2 separate regions of the Homo sapiens genome follow, and region 2 is linked to region 1. The links are contacts of gene promoters, found by promoter capture Hi-C in human tissues and cell types (Jung and others, 2019). All regions are on one chromosome and are shown on one strand. The core of a region is centred on a gene start or on the middle of the fragment in contact, and the rest is flanking DNA. Distances in the headings are between cores, read along the strand shown.

Region 1 (6,780 bases), core at 1,215-3,714:
GTATAGAAGCAATGATGGGTTGGAAATATTTGGAGGGCATATGATGGACAGAGGATCCCCAGCCCTAAATCCACAAGAAAAACACACATAGCCTGATAAGAAATGGGCTAGGAATGTGAACAGGAAACTTTCAGTGTGGACGGCCATGCATTTAGGCCATAGTGGGTTCCCAGCAGCCGTCAGTGCGGAGGGCAGGGAGCTGAGAGCAGATCAGGCTGAGCCGGGGTCACGCGGGGTCCCCCAGCCACTGAGGGCCCTGGGCAGCAACCACGCAGACCCCGCCCCCCAGGCTCCACCTCACTTTCTGTGGCATTTCTGTGCCTGTTCTGACCACAGCCGTGGCAGCACCATGTCCATCAGGCTGCGGCCGGCCTGGCTGTGGGGTGACTGCAGCATCCCAGGGGCGGGCATTCTCATCAGCGTTTTGGTCTCTGCAGCTGGCCTGGAGGAGTTTGTCTCACAGTCTGAGGACTGACTGCTCTGCACCCACCCAGGGTGGCGGAGCCCCATGCGCTGCCTGATCTTACCATTGTCCCCGCTGACGGCCTTTCCCACAGGACATCACAGGCAGCTCATGCTCCCCGCGTGGACCAAGCCTTAGAGAGATGAGAGTGTCGCTGACTGTGTGCCCGCACCGGCATCATCTGTGGGAACCCAGGCTCCTTGTCCCTACACCTGTGTGGAAACTGCTGCCCCCCCCCCCCCCAAGAGGAGAACCTGGGCAGCGCCAGGGTTTTGGGGAATCCTGTGCCTCCATCCGCCCACCCCATGATGCTTTTGTTCCCATCGAGTCCCTTGTCTCCTGCGCAGGTGCAGCAGCCCCTCCCTCTCCCCTCGCATTGCTGCTAAAACGGGCAGAACCCTCGGGCGGGCGGCACACAGGGAGGGTGACCAGGCCTGGAGGCTGCAGTGCCCGGACCCCAGGGCAGCTTCCCGGAAGGTGACCCTGCAGTGTGGGCTCTCCCAGGTGAGAGAGTGGGTGGGACAGTCCTGGGGCCTGGAGAGCCCCACAGCCCAGGGCATGACAGCGAATGACCAGGCTCAGGAAGACCCGGGCACAGGGGCTGAGCTGGGACTGAGCCTTCCTGGGAGTGACCGTGAGTCCCACCTGGTGACCCCCTGGAGGAGTTAGGCCACTGTCCCCTGTGACTTCTAGGTTAAGTCACTCATTCCTAAAAATAATCATGGCTGGAGGAGACCAATGTCAGCTCAAAACCATGTGTCCCCCAGGAACACAACAGAAAAGAGAATCAGGTGACCAAGGAGAGTTTATTGGGGAGCAGGAGGAGGTGCTGAGAGGTTCAAGTCGAGGCCAAGTGACCCAGAGCAGAGAAGCTGGGAGGGAGGACAGGGGACCTAGCAGGCAGGTGGGCACCTGCTGGAAGGCAAGAGCTGGGGAGCTGCAAGGATGGAGGCTCCTGGGAGCAAGGAGGGGGGGTCACCTCAGCACAGGGGAGACACGGGGACCCGTCCTAGGTGGGGGAAGCCACCTAACCCAGGTCAGGAACTGAGCCCAGCTGGCCCAGGGCGGGTGCCCATCAGCAGCTGGACTCCTGGCCTGAGCAGAGGCCTCAGCAGGCCGGGCGGGAGCACGCGGGGCGGCAGAGGAGGGACACGCAGGAGGCCGGGCGGCAGCAGCTGGCCTGGCAGGAGGAGGCAGGGGCACAGCAGGAGGAGACAGGCATACAGCAGGCGGGCCGGCATACAGGGCGGCAGAGGAGGGACACGGAGGAGGAGGGTCTGCAGCAGGAGGTGGTGCAGCAAGCCGGCTGGCAGCTAGACTGCTGGCAGCATGAAGTGGAAGCCCCAGAGCAGACGGGCACACAGCAGATGGGCTTGCAGCAGACAGGCTTGCAACGGACGGGCACGCAGCAGGCCTGCTGGCAGGGGGAGGAGGTGCAGCAAGCTGGATGGCAGCTAGACTGCTGGCAGCATGAAGAGGAATCCTCAGAGCAGGTGGGCACATAGCACACAGGCTTGCAGCAAACAGGCACACAGCAGGACTGCTGGCTGGAGGAAGAGGCACAGCAAGTTGGCTGGCAGCTAGACTGCTGGCAGCATGAAGAGGAATCCTTAGAGCAGGTGGGCAGGCAGCACACAGGCTTGCAGCAGACGGGCACGCAGCAGGCCTGCTGGCAGGGGGAGGAGGTGCAGCAAGCCGGCTGGCAGCTAGACTGCTGGCAGCACGAGGGCGTGCAGGAGCTGGTGCAGCCTGATTGGCAGGGGCTGGGCTCACAGGCTGCCTGGCAGCAGGGGCTGGACACACGGCTCACTGGGGTGCAGACCAGGGTCAGGCAGGGGGCCGGGGCGCAGCAGCTGAGGGCGCAGCAGTGGGGCTCACAGCAGCTCTCTGGGCAGGCATCCACCTGCCAGGAGTCGGAGCAAGCGCTGGAGCAGACGGACATGGTGGACGCGGCCATGCTGGGGTGGGGAGGAGGTGAGCTGCGGGAGGTGTGAGTGAGTGAGTGTGGGAGTCAGTGTGTGTGTGAGTGACTGAGTGTGTGAGTGAGTGTGTGAGCTTCGTGGGGCTCTGCTTTTATACCCCTTCTGGCCTTGTTGTTCCAGGGCCCACAGCGTCCCCTTCCTGGTTGCTGAGAGGTGGCGTGTGTCATGACTAGGGATGTTTGTTTGCCTGTGATGTGGCCCAGGTCATAAATCTCCTGTCCTGTCTGGGCTGTAGCCTGTCCCATGTGGATCCCTGGGGGCAAGAGTGGAGGTGGACCTGGTCCCAGCACGCCACCAGTGCAGTCCGGGTTGTAAGAAGGGGGCTGCGGAGGCAGGGGTGGCCCTTCAGCCTTATGCAAAGTGTGGCATGCCAGGGTGAGAGCTGTCCCACTCACGATCGTGGGGGCGTCTCCTCCCTAAAGCGGGTCCTCACTGAAGAGGCAGAAGCAGCTGGTAGAAGCACAGGATCACTGGAGCAGCCGGAGAGAAGGTGCAGCAGTGGCCAGCGAACCCCACAGTGGTGGCCCTGCACATTCCTTCCCCCATCCCCATCACTGAAGAAATTAGAGCCCCAAACAGGGAGAAGGGGAGCAAGGAAGGAGAGGCCATGCCCCTCCCCACGGCCTTCCCCGAGGTCCACTCAGACGTTGGTGTGGGAACGCTGGGGATAGGACTGGGTTTCGGACAGGAAAGAAAAGTTTTGAACTGGCCCATGGATTTGGTTCTGCTCTTAAAGGCCATAGCTTTATGATGTGCTTCAACCATAGATAACTCAAGTCCCGTTATCAATATTCTTAAATTTATTTTTTTTTTTTTTTGTACAGATGGCGTCTCAAGTGATCCCTCCTGCCTTGGCCAAAGTACTGGGATTGCAGGCGTGAGCCCGGTGCCTGGCCATCATCAGTATTTCTGCACCACGTGTCTTCCCTGTTCCTGTTCATTGTCCTTGCTGTCCTCAGCTTCCTTTCTTCAAACGTAAGCTGCATGTGAGCAGGGAGTGTGTTTGTCTTGTTCACCACTCAGTCTTCAAAGGCCTAAAATCATGCCTGGCCCAAGGAAAAGCCTTTATAAAAATGGGCTGAAATAATAAACTTTTTTGGAGAAATTATTGAAGAGTAATTTTGAGCTCTGAACGCGATTCCATTGTGCCACCTTTTTCTTATGCTGTATAAAATGCTCTGTCAAGTTCTCCTTTCGTGTGTGGGGAACTGGCTTACATCAGACTGGCCATCTAGCTGAGAAATATTAGGAAATCTGGTTTACAAACAAAATCTCTGTTCGAAGGGGCCGGGAGGTATCAAGACAGCTGAGACTTGAGTGAGTGAATCCGCATTAGAGAGAAACTGCACAGAAGTGAGTCCAATATTCCTTGTGGATTTTCTTACTGAGGCATTTACCAATTTACAGACCACAGCCAAGAGGCCGAGAGCCTGATCAGCTGAGCAGAGCTTTTAGTAGTCTCATGGAATTAGAAGAAAAAAACCACAGAGTTCAGGACCTGACAAGGTGGAGGGATTCTAGCAAAAACACCCTAGGCTTTCAGTTGGAAATGCTGAATGTAAGTGAAGGGCTACTCCCTAGGAGGAAGGAAAAACCAGAAAGAATGAAACCTATCTTTAAATAAACTCGCACTGAACTCATATGATCTGCCTGTAGCCTAACTGCCTCCCAGAAACAAAAGTGATCTCTTCTGGAGACAGCAGCATCAACAGAGGCTCAAATCATCTTATAAATTTTCATAAAGTCCTTCATGCAGTCAAAAAATTACTAGGGATATTAGAAGACAAGACCAACTGACCAAAAGACCAAGAGGAAAAAAACAAACAAGAGAAACAGACGTGCAGGAGATCTAGATATTAGAATTGTGAAACTGGAATTTAATGCTGATTAACTTGCTCAAGAAAATAGAGAACAAATGGAGAATTTCAGTGTCAAACTGGATTTATTAAATGGAATCAAACAAAAATTCTGGAAACGAAGAACACAATAGCTGAAATTAAGAACTAGGTAGCTTAGCTTTACAACATATAGACAAAACCAAAGAGAAGATTAGTAAAGGAAGGGAGATGAGGAAATTTCAAGCCTGAATACAGAGATGGGAAAGAAAAGAGGGAAATAAAGAAAGTGGAGCAATAAACATGCCTATATTTTGTGAAAATTTATGGGAAAAATGATTGAAATCCTACAAGGAGAGGAGTGAAATAGGGGTAGTAAAATATTTGAAGATGTAATGGACAAGAACTTTAACCTGATGAAATGCATAGATGCAAAGAGCATTTAAGAATCTTTAGGCCAGGCATGATGGCTCACACCTGTAATACCAGCACTCTGGGAGGCCAAGGTGGTCAAACTGCTTGAGCTTAGGAGTTGAAGACCAGCCAGGACAATATAGCAAAACCCAATCTCTACAAAAAATATGAAAAGTTGGCCCACTTTGGTGGTACATTTGTAGTCCCAGCTACTCAAGAGGCTAAGGAGGAGAATCACTTGAGCCTGGGAGGTAGAGGCTGCAGTGAGCCAAGATTGCACCACTGCACTCTAACCTGGGCAACAGAAAGAGACCTGTTAAAAAAAAAAAAAAAAGAAAAAGAAAAGAAAAAAGAAAAAGAAAAAAAGGAACCCTCCAAACCAAGAATCTTTAGCAAGTGAACACAAAGAAAACTACACCTGGGCACATTGGGGTTGAAATCCAAAGACAGAAAAATTTAAAAACAGCCAGAGGAAAACAAGACATATTACCTTCAAAGAAGCAACAATAACACTTACAGATGACTTCTCAGTAGAAATGATGAAAGGCAGAGGACAATGGAATGATATATTTACTGTCTGAAAGAAAAGAAGCACAAAGCTAGAATTCTATACCTGGGAAGAAGATTCCCCCAAATGAGAACAGAATAATGACATCCTCTGGACACCGAGAGGATATGTCACCAGCAGGATCTGCACTACAGAAAATACTAAAGGGAGCATTAGGTAGAATGAAAACAAGCACAGATGAAAGCAAGAAGTTGATAAGGAAATGAAGTGTAACAAAAGAAGAACACATGGGGAAAATCTAAATGAATGTTGACTGTATAAAATGTAAGTTGTAAAATATTTATGGAAATAAAATACATGGCAAGAACACAAAATTCAGGAGGGGCTACATAGAGTTAAAGTGGCTTAAGCACACTGCACCATCTGAAAAATAATATAAGGTCTAATTTACATGAGACTTTAAAAAGTCATGGATTCATGTTATAATCTCCACTATAATAACAAAGGAATATACGACTCACTAGGAAGTAGATGCTAGTACTTGGCCGAATCATTCCTCCCCAAAGGTTGTCTCCACCCAGAACCTCCCAATATGACCTTATATGGAAATAAGGTATTTGCAGATATAATTAGTTAAGTCATACGGGATCATAGTGAACCTTAAATCCAATGTCTAGTGTCTTTACCAGAGAAAGGAGAAGGAAGTTCAGACATACACACAAAGGGAAGAAGATGATATGACAACAGAGGCAAAGATTGGAGTGAAGATAGAAGCCAAGGGAACCCAAGGTTTGCTGGGTGCCACCAGAAGCTAGAAGGAGCAAGGGCATATTCTCCCTTGGAGCTCGGAGAAAGCATTGCCCTGTGGAAACCTTCATTTCAGGTGCCTGGCCCTAAGAACTATGACAGAATAATTTTCCATTGTTTCCAGTCACACTTTTGGTGTAATTAGCTATGGTAGCACTAGGAACCAATACAATGAAGGAATAAAAAAACTTAAAACAGTCAATCCAAAAGCAGTAAAGCAAGGAGATAAAAGGGAGTAGATTCCTTGCATAAGCAAAAACCACTGTGAGATGGGAGGTTTAAACTCAAACGTATCAGCAAAGCCCCACATTCTTTCCAGTCCTGCCCATCAGATGTATCATTACTTTAGTCAACACAGCTGTATAGGGAGAGTTCACTGGGGTTTAAGTTTGCGCTGTCCTGGTGATCCATGATGTGAAACATGTTTCCATGTGTTTATTTGCCATCCATATTTGTTCTTTAGTGAAGGGTCTATTTAAGTCATATATTATATGGCAAAATACTAAACACTGTGGGATTCTGTAGATGTGATATTATGGCAATAGTAATCATAATAAGACAAAAAAAAAATCAGTGCCTTTTAGGGGCTAGGGTGGGGATGTGGAATGACTACAAAGGGGCATGAGGGAAATTTGTGGGATGATGAGAGGAGTCTATGTATTGATGGTGTTGGTGGAGACACAACTATCTATATTTGTCAAGACACAGAATCCAAGAAAAGGAAAAGTCCCAAATATATCATACTGATTAAATGAATCTAGGATTAAAAGC
Region 2 (6,709 bases), core at 165-2,664, 380 kb after region 1:
GATTCTGCAGTGAGCTGGGCTTCACTCATGGTGAAACGCTGGGGTGACGGCAGACAGCCCAGAGCTTCTAGCAGCTCATTTCTGTGAAGCCTCCAGAATCCGGCCTCAGCCCCCAAACCCGCAGGCGTTGCGCCACCGTCACGGGGAAGGCGAGTGACAGCGAGTGTCCCCTATGCCCCCACAGCTCGCTCCCAGGCTGAGCTCTCCGGCCATCCCCCCCCTTCCCCATTGCAGCCATGCCACCCCTCCTTCTCCCCACCCAGGAACTGACAGAGGAGAGGGGCCCCGGATGGACAGGGACAGCAGGGCAGAATCCCAGCTCCCAGATCCAGGGGAGGGGGGATTGGGTGTGGGGACGGTGGTGCAAGGGGTGGTGCCAGGGGTGGAGGATGCATGGGGAGGGCTGGCCCCAAGAGTGCAGTGTTGGGGGAAGGGGGCCAGGTGGGCCTGGGACCCAGGGGCGTGGCTTCAATCCCCCTCCCACCAGGACCTTGGGAATGGCCTCCAGGAGCCTGTTGTGGGGAGGCCAGGGTCACCAGCTGAACCAACTCGACCAGAATCGCACAGCGGTGCCCGCTCCCCTACAGCAAGACGTCACCCAGGGGTCCCCACGGAGGAGGCAGGGAAGCTCGAGGGTCCCAGAGGAGCATGGAGCATGTGCCACACCACACCACACTACATTACACATGTGCACCATACATGTACATACAACAGACTCCCCACATCACATGCGCACACTCGCACACCATACATGCACACACACACACCACACTACGCTATGCCACACACGTGCACCATACATGCACACCATGCCACACTACACACACGACACTACACACCACGAACCACACCACACCATATCACACACCACACACTGCGAGTCGATCTGGAGATGGAATCGCTGTAGCCAGGCGGGGCAGCATGCAGACAGGAGGGCCTAACACAGGCAGGCGCAGCAGGTTCACAGAGGAGGCCCCGGGAACCTGCCTCCTGCCCAGCCCGGAGCACCAGGACCCCCCAGCCGTCCCCCTAGGGGCTTGTGGGCCCAGCCTCTTCCTGGCCTTGCCGGCCTCACAGCCCCTTGTCCTCCCATGCCGGCCCCATCCTCAGCCGCAAGCGCTCCCAGCACACCATGTGGCTCTGCTCTTGGTGGCAGGCACTTCCCCTTGCCGGGTCTCAAAGGGGACCCTGGAGCAGACGGTCTGGAGACCCCTTCCTGCCAGACACCCCTGGGCCGGGGCTATAAGCAGGGCCACCAGGGTCACTCCAGGCTGGGGCAGGAGAGTGCTTCCCTCCAAAAATCACCGTGGACATAGCGGGGCCTCTGCACACTCACCCTCGGTGTGCTGGAGTCCTCGGCGGTGCTCCTGGCTGGGCGTGGGGGCTTTGCTACCAGTCTGCCCTGGGTCACGTCTAGAAACCTCAGCTGGAGGCGCGGGTCGTAAAGTCCTGACACTTCCTGTTCCTCTCAGCTCCTCCTTGGAGGAAGTGGTGGGTTGCACCACCGTGGCCCTTCACCCCTGCCCCTCTCCGCTCTACAGCAGCTCTGATGTCAGAGAGCGGCCCCTTGAGACAGGTGGGACATGTCATTTCTCACATGAGGTCCCGGCGAGAAGGACCTGCTTCCATCAGATTCACACTTGGGAGAGGGGCCCGGCCTCCAGGAGCGCCAGGCAGAAAGGGCACCCATTAGGAAGAAGAACACAGAGGCCATGGGAGTGAAAAGTTTGATGCTGGAAAGCAACAGTAGCACATTCTGCTACAGAGCGGAATGAAAAACCCTGGGGAGCAAATTCCTGAGCCAGAGAATGGAGCGGAGGAACCAGCCAAGGAGGATAAAGAGGTGGGAACAGGCAAGAAAACCTGGGTGCGTGCACGCATTGACATCCACCTGCATGTGAGGGCGGGAGGGGACAGAACAGGGACAGCGAGGAGGAGACACTCAGGTCACAGGAGGAAGGCTGCGGATCTGGGCGGGGACGTGGATTGCGAGGCCACTGAACACCCCAGGGATGGATGGATGAGGTCCTGTTAACTAGGGACATTAGGAGGATACCACAGAACACGAAAGGGAAAATACTACAGGCTCAGAGAGAGAGAGAAGGGAGAGGAGGAGGAGGAGGAAGAGGAGGGAAAGAGATTATACCTAGAAAAAAAACCCAAATCAGACATCTTCAGAGCAAGGACTCAGACACATTACTACCCTAAACTCTGTTTTATTTATTTATTTATTTTTATGTTTTCAGTTTTTTTTGAGACAGAGTTTTGCTTTTGTCACCCAGGCTGGAGTGCAGTGGCGTGATCTCAGCTCACTGCAACCTCTGCCTCCCGGGTTCAAGCAATTCTCCTGCCTCAGCCTCCCAAGTAGCTGGGATTACAGGCACATGTACCACCACGCCTGGGTAATTTTTGTATTCTTAGTAGAGACAGGGTTTCACTATGTTGACCAGGCTGGTCTTGAACTCCTGGCTTCAAGTGATCCATCCACCTCTGCCTTCCAAAGTGCTGGGATTACTGGCGTGAGCCATGGCTCCCGGCTCCTAAACTCTGTTTTAAAGATGTCTTGCAGAAATAGACATGAAGAAATCCATGAGAAATACAAGAGCAGATGATACAAAGTTGGGCAAAGAAATAAGTAAAAATTATGATGTCATAACCTGTTGATTTAAAAAATAGTGGTAAGAATATTAACGCTGTGAAACAAAACGCCTAGAGGACTGGGTTGGGAGGGGCCAGGGAGCACATTGCCGTTCCATCCTATCTGGGGAGGAATATAGATGCTTGTCAGTGGGCATTTTGATAGAAAATATCTAAGTATATATGCTAACAATTCAAGAGTCTCCTTAAGAATAAAAATAGCATGTATATACCTGAAAAAAAATATGACAAATCTTTATTTTGGGCATGGTGGCTCAAACTTGTAATCCCAGCACTTTGGGAGGCCGAGGTGGGAGGATCACTTGAGCCCAGGAGTTCGAGACCAGCCTAGGCAACATTTGGAGACCCAGACCCTCATCTCTACAAAAAAATTTTCTAAGAATTCGCCAGGCATGGTAGCACGCGATATGGTCCAGGCTACTTGGGAGGCTGAGGTGGGAGAATTGCTTGAGCCCAAGAGGTTGAGGCTACGGTGAACCATGCTTACACCACTGCACTCCAGTCTGGGTAACTGAGAAAAAAAAAAAAAAAAAAAGGCAAATCCTTTAAAAGAAAAAAGTAAGGGAAAATAGAACAAACAAGAAAGGTAAATAAAAACCAAACAATAAAACATTGGGAATAATTTCAAACCCATCAGGAATCACAGCACCTGTGAATGGGTTACATTTTCTTGTTTTAAATCAACAAGGTCTTGCGTTGGGTTTTAGAAATAAAGAGACAAAACAAGTTCCAATGAAATGTTCTCTGTCAAGGGTATCTTCTCATTACAGACTTAGCCTAGAAAATAATGAAGAAGGACAGAAAGAGAATACCATTCTACTACACCCGCTGATGACTTAAAGTAAGCAATGACCCTCGCTGCGAACGTCACGGACGCAGCAGACGTTATGCACACACCTTTAATGAATTAGTCTTGATGAAATAACAATAGAAATCAAGAAAAATAGAAAGAACAAATGTTACTATTGAGCCTGAATCAGGTCGAACTTTTTAGATCTACAAAGAAGCATCAGGAGGGTGTGTTAGATGACATCGTAGGGATGCAATTAGCAAAATCCAGGCTGAAGAAACCCTCACAAGGCAAACAGCACAGTACAAGAGGAGAGACGAAGGGAGAGAGACCCTTTAGATTAAGAGATTTAATCTCTTAATAGAACCAATTGCAATGCATGGACCATATTTTAAAATCATTGTTAATTGTTTTAAGTGTGACAATGGTTTGTGGTTATGTTAAAAAGTCCCCATCTTTTAGAGTTACATGTTGAAATATTTGCAGATGGTGCAGTATAATGTTTCAGATTTATTTCCCAATAAAGAGGGGTGGGTTGGGTTGGGGGAGAGTCGGGAGAGGTGTTGATACAACAAGATCACCTGTGAGTTGATTATTTTTGAAGCCACTGTTGGGGACATGGGGCTTCACTAATCTATTCTCTCTACTTCTGTAGATGTGTGAAATTTTTTGTAGTAAGATTAAAAAAACATTTCAAGGAAGTGTAAAGTTATTATTTCGCGGGTATAAAGTTCCCGTTTTGCAAGATGAAATGGTTTTGGAGAAGTTGGTGGTGATGGTTGCACAGTACTAAGTGTCCTTAATGCCACGGAAATGCATAACTTCAAATGGTTAAAATGGTGAATTTATGTTATGTATATTTTATCACAATTAAAAAGTAAAAAGTGTAAGAAAGGCTCTCTATCAGATAAACTGTTAAAAGAGAACACTGAAGGCTGAAAATAAAGAAACGGAAAATACACGTATGTGCTAGAAAATACTAACGAAGATATCGTGTAACATCAAAAAGATAGAAATCAAAGCAAAATGCATCAAATGGACAAAGGAAGATGTAGCCAATGAGAGTCAGAATCCACAGACAGTTCAGCAGCCATAATCCTTTGTGTGCCGAACTTCAAAATATATAAAACAAAGACTGACAAATATATAAGCAAACTGACACAGCCCCAAACAGCAAATATCTCTAACAGATCTCTCTCAGAAATAAACACATCAGGCCAGTCGCGGTGGCTCACACCTGCAATCCCAGCACTTTGGGAGGCTGATGTGAGCGGATCACCTGAGGTTAGGAGTTCAAGACCAGCCTGGCCAACATGGCAAAACCCTGTCTCTACTAAAAATACAAAAATTAGCTGGGCATGGTGGCGCATGCCTGTAATCCCAGCTACTTGGGAGGCTGAGGCAGGAGAATCACTCAAACCTAGGAGGCAGAGGTTGCAGTGAGCCGAGATTGTGCCACTGCATTCCAGCCTGGGTGATGAGAAGGAAACTCTTACTCAAAAACAAAAACAACAACAAACAAACAAGAAAAAATCAAATAGAAATGCAAATTTGGCAGGTAGAGAATTTGAGGAACGTAACCATTCGTCTCCAACTTAAACACAATTATGTTACAAAGTGGGACAATGATAAACACATAATTACTAGACCACAAGGGAAATAACCACATATTCTAAAGCACAAAGACCATAAGGAGGCCAAATTCACGGACACAATTGAATGAAATTAGATGCTGTCCAAAGGATGGCATGAAAGAAAAAAAACAGCACTCCTGAAAAGTGGACCCAAATATAGCCTAGATCACATACATCCATGGTGCCACACTCACGCTACGGGGTAATGAATAAGAGCCCTTGAAGTGCTGCTCTGAAGCCTCGTGACCCACAGATCCGTAACACTGAGATTCTTCTGAAAAGCAAAATGTAGAAGGAGGCATTGAAGAATAACATGCACCTCGTCCCTGCAGACCCACACACCCCTAGAGCAGGACAGTGGTTACCCCTGAAGACAGAGAAGGCTACGGGCCTGGGAGATGGAAGCAGAGGGCTTCAAAGTTCTATTGTAGAGTTTTCTTTACTAAAAAGGAAGAAAAAGTTCTGGGCAAGTCAGGCAACATGTTAAGATTTGGTAAGATGAGAGGTAGCTGTTTGGGGATTGGTACTAGTGCTCTCCATGCTGTTCTGTATTCTTAAAATAGTTTATATCTTTTTTTTTTTTTTAAAGGAGCTAGGAGGAAGTGACTGCAAATGAGCAGAAGGATCTTTCAGGGGGTGGAAATGCTCTGAAATTAGATTGTGGTGATGATTGCACAATTCCGTAAATTTTCTTTTTGTTGCTGTTGTTTCTTTCTTTCTTTTTTTAATAGAGACTAGGTCTCGCTACGTTGCCAAGGCTATGGTGAGCCAAGATCACACCACTGCACTCCAGCCTGGGTGACAGAGTAAGATCCTGTCAGAAAGAAAGAAAGGAAGAAGGAAGGGAGGGAGGGAGGGAAGGAAGGAAGGAAGGAAGGAAGGAAGGAAGGAAGGAAGGAAGGAAGGAAGGAAGGAAAAAGAAAAGAAAAAATAAAAACTGAACTCACATGAGAACCACAGCCCACAAGAGGCAGGTCTGGACTTGTGGTCTAACCCTAACCAGACTGACTGCTAGCAAAACAAAAAGATCATTGTTGTCCAGAGGATTTTAGTAGAATCCAGAGTCTTATTAAATAATATTCAAAATGTCCATGATACAACCCAAAAGTACTCAAACAGCAACAAAGAAAACCTTGAGAACTTGTAAGAGAAAAGATAACTAATAGATGCCAACTCCGAGATAATCCCAATGCTGAAATGATCACACGGAGCATTAAAACAGCTGTTAGAGGCCGGGCGCGGGGGCTCACGCCTGTAATCCCAGCACTTTTGGAGGCCGAGGCGGGTGGATCACGAGGTCAGGAGTTCGAGACCATCCTGGCTAACATGGTGAAACCTCGTCTCTACTAAAAATACAACAACAACAAAAATAAATCAATAAAAATAAAATTAGCTGGGCATGGTGGCGGGTGCCTGTAGTCCCAGCTACTTGGGAGGCTGAGGCAGGAAAATGGTGTGAACCTGGGAGGCGGAGCTTGCAGTGAGCCAAGATCGTGCCACTGCACTCCAGCCTGGACAACAGAGCGAGACTCCGTCTCAAAAAATATATATACAATAAATAAATAAATTAATTAATTAATTAAATAAAGGCTGGTGGAGGGAGTGAAGGGGAGGGGCTAGGGACCGT

The links. Contacts are between HindIII fragments. The study calls those that stand out against the background at their distance.
Region 2: a contact is called between the fragment with the promoter of ITGB2 here and the fragment with the promoter of KRTAP10-1 in region 1, in 3 of the 25 tissues and cell types used here (dorsolateral prefrontal cortex, lymphoblastoid cells and mesendoderm cells).

Annotation. Positions count from the first base shown.
Region 1 is chr21:44,537,731-44,544,510 of GRCh38, forward strand. KRTAP10-1 (keratin associated protein 10-1) reads right to left here and starts at 2,465. Exons shown (of 1, transcript NM_198691.3): 1 at 1,251-2,465. The coding sequence starts at 2,420. The coding sequence ends at 1,572. All of the region lies in intron 2 of TSPEAR (thrombospondin type laminin G domain and EAR repeats), which reads right to left. RefSeq lists enhancers at 350-849, 1,203-1,867. The HindIII fragment of the contact is 21,448 bases long and covers 1-6,780 here.
Region 2 is chr21:44,919,485-44,926,193 of GRCh38, forward strand. ITGB2 (integrin subunit beta 2) reads right to left here and starts at 1,415. Exons shown (of 16, transcript NM_000211.5): 1 at 1,337-1,415. ITGB2-AS1 (ITGB2 antisense RNA 1) reads left to right here and starts at 1,551. Exons shown (of 3, transcript NR_038316.1): 1 at 1,551-1,843. RefSeq lists a silencer at 6-65 and an enhancer at 6,524-6,709. The HindIII fragment of the contact is 46,650 bases long and covers 1-6,709 here.